Linked DNA regions of Homo sapiens: region 2 is linked to region 1. The links are contacts of gene promoters, found by promoter capture Hi-C in human tissues and cell types (Jung and others, 2019). All regions are on one chromosome and are shown on one strand. The core of a region is centred on a gene start or on the middle of the fragment in contact, and the rest is flanking DNA. Distances in the headings are between cores, read along the strand shown. Region 1 holds the start of ZNF665 (zinc finger protein 665). Region 2 overlaps ZNF813 (zinc finger protein 813).

What was found. The method cuts DNA at HindIII sites, captures the fragments that hold promoters and counts their contacts. A contact is called where the count stands out against the background at its distance.
Region 2: a fragment that was not itself captured here is called in contact with the fragment with the promoter of ZNF665 in region 1 in 1 of the 25 tissues and cell types used here (spleen).

What each region holds. Positions count from the first base shown.
Region 1 is chr19:53,191,547-53,194,617 of GRCh38, reverse strand. ZNF665 (zinc finger protein 665) reads left to right here and starts at 1,260. Exons shown (of 4, transcript NM_024733.5): 1 at 1,260-1,306. RefSeq lists an enhancer at 1,295-1,444. The HindIII fragment of the contact is 23,654 bases long and covers 1-3,071 here.
Region 2 is chr19:53,492,861-53,496,175 of GRCh38, reverse strand. ZNF813 (zinc finger protein 813) reads right to left here. Exons shown (of 4, transcript NM_001004301.4): 4 at 1-3,315. It also overlaps the pseudogene RPL39P37. Among named protein-coding and RNA genes, the nearest start is that of ZNF813, 27 kb to the right of the region's middle. RefSeq lists an enhancer at 2,894-3,315. The HindIII fragment of the contact is 8,734 bases long and covers 1-3,315 here.

The DNA of each region.
Region 1 (3,071 bases), core at 11-2,510:
TTGCTATTGCCATTATCATCACAGTTTTTACTTCTGGCCAGTGTTTCTGTAAAGCCACTGTGGACCTTGTCACCTCAGAAGACATCATTCGTGCTTTAGCTTATCTAGATACGGAGTATCACTTAGTGTGTTGAAAATAATATCTAACACTTCTATAGAGATCAGCTTGTGTTTGGGTTTTTATTTGTCTATTTATTGTATTGTCCACAAAACTGAAAACTCCACACAGATTTAGAGGCTATTATAACTACTTAGGGAAAAGTACAATAAAACAGAATTAGGGAGACATAACTTGCTCAAAAATGCCTTCACGCTGGGGCGGTGGCTCAGTGAGCCGAGATCATGCCATTGCATTCCAGCCTGGGCGACAAGAGCAAGACTCTTGTCTAAAAAAAAAAAAAAAAAAAAAAAAACAACAACAAACCTCACATATTCGTATTTAAGAATATAGGAAACACTGATTCAGTTTCTTCTACTGTTCTCTCACAACACAGAATGCTACAGTTAGCCCAGAGGTACTGGGTTTTCCCACACACACCAAGCAAGCAATCCTGCCACAGACACCAGGTGCGTGTTCTCTCATTCCGTTCCATTTTGCCGGGACATGGCATCAGATCCCACACGTTGAGGGCTCAGTCCCACAATAGTGCACACATTTCAATGCCAGTCTCAAGCAGAGGTTGTGACTTGTGCTTACAGATCAGATATAAATCCAGGAGTCCCTTGACCCCCTCCTCAGGTTCAACGAATTTGCTAGAGTGGCTCACAAAATACAGGGAAACACTTTACATAGATTTACGTATTATAAAGGATATTACAAAGTTGACAGAAGAACAGCCAGATGGAAGGGATCAGTGAGGTGAGGCATGGGAGAAGGGGCGTTGAGCCTTGGTGCCCTCCCTGGGTGCACCACGCTGCAGGAGCCTCCCAGTGTTCACCTATCCAGAAGCTCCGCTGAATCCTCTCCTTTTGGGTTGTTATGGCGCCTTCATTACATATGCATGATTGCTTATATTACTGGCCATTGGTTAAACTTTTAGATAGCCTAAGTTTTGTTTTTTTTTTTTTTTGGGAGAGACGAAGTCTCACTCTGTCACCCAGGCTGGAGTGCAATGGCGCGATATCGGCTCATTGCAACCTCCGCCTCCAGGGTTCAGGCCCCGCCCCGGCCCCGCCCACCCTATGCTCTCAGTCCCTCCCAACGCCTGGCCTTTCCCCACCGCAACCCGCCCCTTTGCCTACTGCGCGGGCAGTTTCTTGCAAACCCGGAAGCAGATCTCTTGGAGTGAAGGCTGTTAGTCGCCGCGTGAGTTTCCCTCTATCTAGATTAAACCTGCGTTTCGGAGTCCCCTGCTCCTCCGTACCCGATGTCCGGGGGTTCGTATAGCCCTTAAAGTCCCCGCACGGCTCCCTCCATTCCATGTAAATTCAGACTTTGCCGCGAGACTCTGGGGGTCGCATCGCTTTGGGTTAAAATCACACAGGCTGGTCCTGCCCGCGGTCTTTCGGCCTTCAGACCATGCAGACACCTCCTTTCCTGCGCCGTTTCCTGCTTAAAACCCTTTACTGACCTGCGCCCTGTGAAGTCCTCATCTGCGAAGTGGGTGCAGGATTTTACCGTCCCCTAACCTCGCCCTAGTCAGCTACTGGAGCGTTAGCGCCGCAGCCCCAGTCCCGGGGAGGCCGCGCCTCTGCCTGGTCCTGGGATCCTGCATACCCCACCCCTCTCCTAAGGCGCCGTCGCCCCCCACCTCCCTCCTCCTCGTGCCGGGCCCTGCTGCTCCCTAGGCCTCCCCTTCGCAGTCACCGTTTCCCCTGAGCCCGCGTTGGGGAGGTGCCCGGGCCTTGTCCTGTGATACCCGGTGTTCTTGCCTGCCCAGCTCCACCCGCTGGAAAATGTGCTCCTCCAGGATCCAGGTGTCTTACTCCAAACCCTCCCTGTGAATGTGTGGGCCAAGGGGATCAGGAGACAGAGAGGGGGGCTGAGAGAAAAGTAGAAAAACGGAGACAGAGGAAAGAATGAGGGAAACCAGTAAACATGGCAAAGTAGAGGATGGGTCAGGATTTACAAAGAGACAGTAAGGGTGAAAGAAGTCGCTGAGAAAGTAACAGGATGGAGAAACAACTGGAGAAATGTAGAGAAAAGCTCGCTGTCTAGAGAGATGAAGGACAGCAAGGTAGGGAGAGGGGCAGCTCCTCAGACGGAGAGTTAGGGAGAGGAGGGGGTATTTGGAGCCAGGATAGACAGAGCAGCGTGGTGCTGGGACAGCAAGAAGGGGCAGCTGGTGACAAGGAGAGCAGAGGGAGAACCACAGCAGGGGGAGACCTGGGATCTGGGGGTGCCAAAGAGTGGGGACAAGGAAGTGAAACAGGGAAGAGGGGATTTAACAGGGAGAGCAGAGATAAGGGAAGAAAGAGGCAGAAATAGATGGAGATTGGGGACAACCAAAAGACGGGTGAAAGAGGAATAAGAGGTGAAACAAGTTGCAAGAATGGAACAGAACAAGTGGAAGAGAAGGATAGAGGGAAGGAGAAACAGCAGGAGAAGAGAGGGGCTCAAAATGAGGAGCAGAGACCCAGGCTGAAACACAGAAAAGAAACAAGGAGAGAGAAGAAGAGAATGAGAGAGATGTACAGAATGAGGGAGGGAAACACACAGGAAGGAAGAAAGAGGGGGACTATGGCCCAGATGCATGGTGGTTTCATTGGATATGGATAATTACATCGTGATATATTGATTTCTGTATCCATAATCTAACAAATTTTTTTTTTCTTAAGACAGAATCTCACTCTATTTCCCAGACTGGCGTGCAATGGCACGATCTCGACTCACTGTAACTCCGCCTCCTGGGTTCAAGCGATTCTCTTGCCTCAGCCTCCCGAGTAGCTGGGATTACAGGCATGCACCACCACACCTGGCTAACTTTTGTATTTTTAGTAGAGACGGGGTTTCACTATGTTGACCAGGCTGGTCTCGAACTCCTGACCTCAGGTGATCTACCCACCTCAGCGTCCCAAAATGCTGGGATTACAGGCATGAGCCACTGTGCCCAGCCCCTAATAATCTAACA
Region 2 (3,315 bases), core at 749-3,248, 300 kb before region 1:
GCAGATTCAGAGAAAAAACATATTCCCAATAAAACATTTCCAACACTCCAGATAGTGGTGACATTTTCAGCTTGATATGGTAACGCGATTGTAATGCTCACACAGCATAAATATGTGTGCCATCTCACGTGCAATTCCTTATAGACCCCGCTTCGTTCTTCTCCAATGTCTCCTTTTGGAGTCGTACCTGATTTTATTACCAGTTTTGATCTGAATCCACTGGGGGAATGGAATGATTTTGCTTTTGTTTCTTGGCCAGGTATTGCTTAAATCTGAAAGTCCTGTGAGATCTGGCGAGAAGGGGAGTCAAGTACACACCACGAGAGGAGACAGGAAGAGAAGGGGCTTGACATATTTTATTTTTTATTTATTTATTTTTTTTTGAGACAAAGTTTTGCTCTTATTGCCCCCATCTTGGCTCACTGCAACCTCCGCCCCCCAGGTTAAAGCGATAATGCAGCCTCAGCCTCCTGAGTAACTGGGATTACAAGCACCCGCCACCACACCCAGCTAATTTTTGTATTTTTAGTAGAGACGGGGTTTCACCATGTTAATCAGCCTGTTCTCAAACTCCTGACTATTGTTTCTGCTGTTACCTGTCAGTCCTCTTCATTGTGGCACAAACAAGATAAATTTTTTTGTAAAACTGATGTGCAAGGGGCATGGTGGCTCATGCCTGTAATCTCCACACTTTGGGAGGCTGAGGTGGGCAGATCGTGAGGTCAGGAGTTCAAGACCAGCCTTGCCAACATGGTGAAACCCCGTCTTACTAAAAATACAAAAATTAGCTGATGTGGTGGCACGCGCCTGTAGTCCCAGCTACTAAGGAGGCAGAGACAGGAGAATCACTTGAACCCGGGAGGCAGAGGTTGCAGTGAGCCGAGATTGCACCACTGCATTCCAGCCTGGGAGACAGAGCGAGACACCATCTCAAAAAAACAACAACAACAAAAACAAACAAAAAAACTGATGTGGATGGTGTGCCTGCCACTCCATGCATCACCTTCAACATTGTCTTGTCCCAACTCAAACTAAGTTATCCATTTACAAACTGTTTATTTCTTCTGGGCATCATCTCCATAATCTTTTCATAAAGCATCAATGATTTCATTATTCCTCTACCCAAACTTTACAAGAAGTATTTTTTTTTTTGAGCCAGTATCTCGCTCCATCACCCATGCTGGAATGCAGTGGCATGATCATAGCTCACTGCAGCCTCAACCTCCCAGGCTCGAGCTATCCTCCTACCACAGACTCCACAGCAGCTGGCCCTGCATGCATGTGCTACCGTGCCCAGCTAATTTTTGTATTTTTTGTAGACAAGGGGGTTTCACCATGTTGCCCAGGCTTGTCTTGAATACCTGGGCTTACATGACCCACCTGTCTTGGCCTCTGAAAGTGCTGGGATTACAGGCCTGAGCCACTGCATCTGGTCTCACTGTAAATTTGATGCTCCTTTTTGTTTCAATTTTAGCAGGATTTATATTGCTTTGATAGAGTCTCTTTTCTTTTCTTTTCTTTTTTTTTTTTTTGAGACAGAGTTTCGCTCTTGTTGACCAGGCTGGAGTGCAATGGTGCAATCTCGGCTCACAGCAATCTCTGCCTCCCGGGTTCAAGCCATTCTCCTGCCTCAGCCTCCAGAGTATCTGGGATTACAGGCATTTGCCACCATGCCTGGCTAATTTTGTATTTTTAGTAGAGATGCTGTTTCTCCATGTTGGTGAGGCTGGTCTCGAACTCTGGATCTCAGGTGATCCACCCACCTTGGCCTCCCAAAGTGTTGGGATTACAGGCATGAGCCACTGCGCCCGGCAGAGAAAGTCTCTTTTAAAACTCATGTCTTATCCTTCTGGGTGCCTCAAACTAGGACCTGTTCAGACATAACAGATTCGTACCAGTTTATTTTGGTGCAAAAACTGGGAAATTCATACACAATTTTCTCATAATATGCAAAATATGTATTTTTCCATGAACTTCTTGAAGACCCCTTGTACTAAAAAGCTGTATTCAAGAGGATGTAAAAAGGACTGTAGATACTCAAGTGCCACTTATTTCTGGGATGCAAGGATGGTTCAACATAGTCAAGCAAATCAATGTGATATGCCACTTGAACAGAATGAAAGATGAAAACCACATCATCTCAATAGATGGAGAAAAAGTATTTCACAAAATTCAAAATCCACTCATCATAGAAATTCTGAACAAAATAGACAGAAAAGGAAATTTACCTCAACAATAGAAAGGCCATCCATGAAATGACCAACGAGTAGATAACGAAGCAGGGAACATGGAATGATTTTCCTGTAGGATCTCACATGATGGAAGAATGCTCTCACCCCTTCTATTCAATAAATACTGGCTGTCCTAGCCAGAGCAATGAAATAGCAAAAGAAATCAAACCCATCCAAATCAGAAAGAAAGAAGTAAAATTATATGTGTTTGTAGATGACATGATCTTCTGTGTAGAAAATCACAAAGACTCAACCAAAATACTACTGGAAGTAATAAACAGATTCAGTGTATCTGCACAGTACAATATCAGCACCAAAAATTAGCTGAATTTCCATACATTAACAATAAACAATTTTAAAAGAAAATTTAAAAACACTTCCATTTGCTAGAGAACTTAAAGTAAGAAATACTTAGGAATAAAAGCAAAAAGATGAGAAGTTTGTAACAATAAACAATTTTAAAAGAAAATTTAAAAACACTTCCATTTGCTAGAGAACTTAAAGAAATAGAAATAAAAGTAAAAAGGTGAGAAGTTTGTACCTTGAAATCTACAAATATACATCAATATGATTAAAAACATATACAGACATATAACCCATATTGATGGATTGGAAAAATTAATATTGTTAAATGATTATATAACCCAATGTGATTTAGATTCAACACGGTACCCATAAAAATCCCTATCAGTTTTTGTTAAAGAACAAAAAGCAAACTGGGAAAAGTGGCTCATGTTTGTTGGCCAGACTGATCTGAAACTCCTGACCTCAAGTGATCTACCCGCCTTGGCCTCCCAAAGTGCTGGGATTACAGGTGTGAGACACTGTACCTGGCCCAATCCTCTTAACATAAACACTTTAATGTCAATTACTGCTTGATGGTTTGCTCTACTCATTGCATTTGGAACAATTATCTCAAAATGAATTTTCTGATATTCTGCAAGGAGTGAAGTCAGACTGAAAACCTTGCCACACTGATGACATTTGTAAGATTTCCGTCCAGTGTGCATTCTCTGATGTCTAAGGAGGTGTGAACGTGAAGTAAAGGCTTTGCCACAATCATCACACGTGAGGTTTCTCTCCT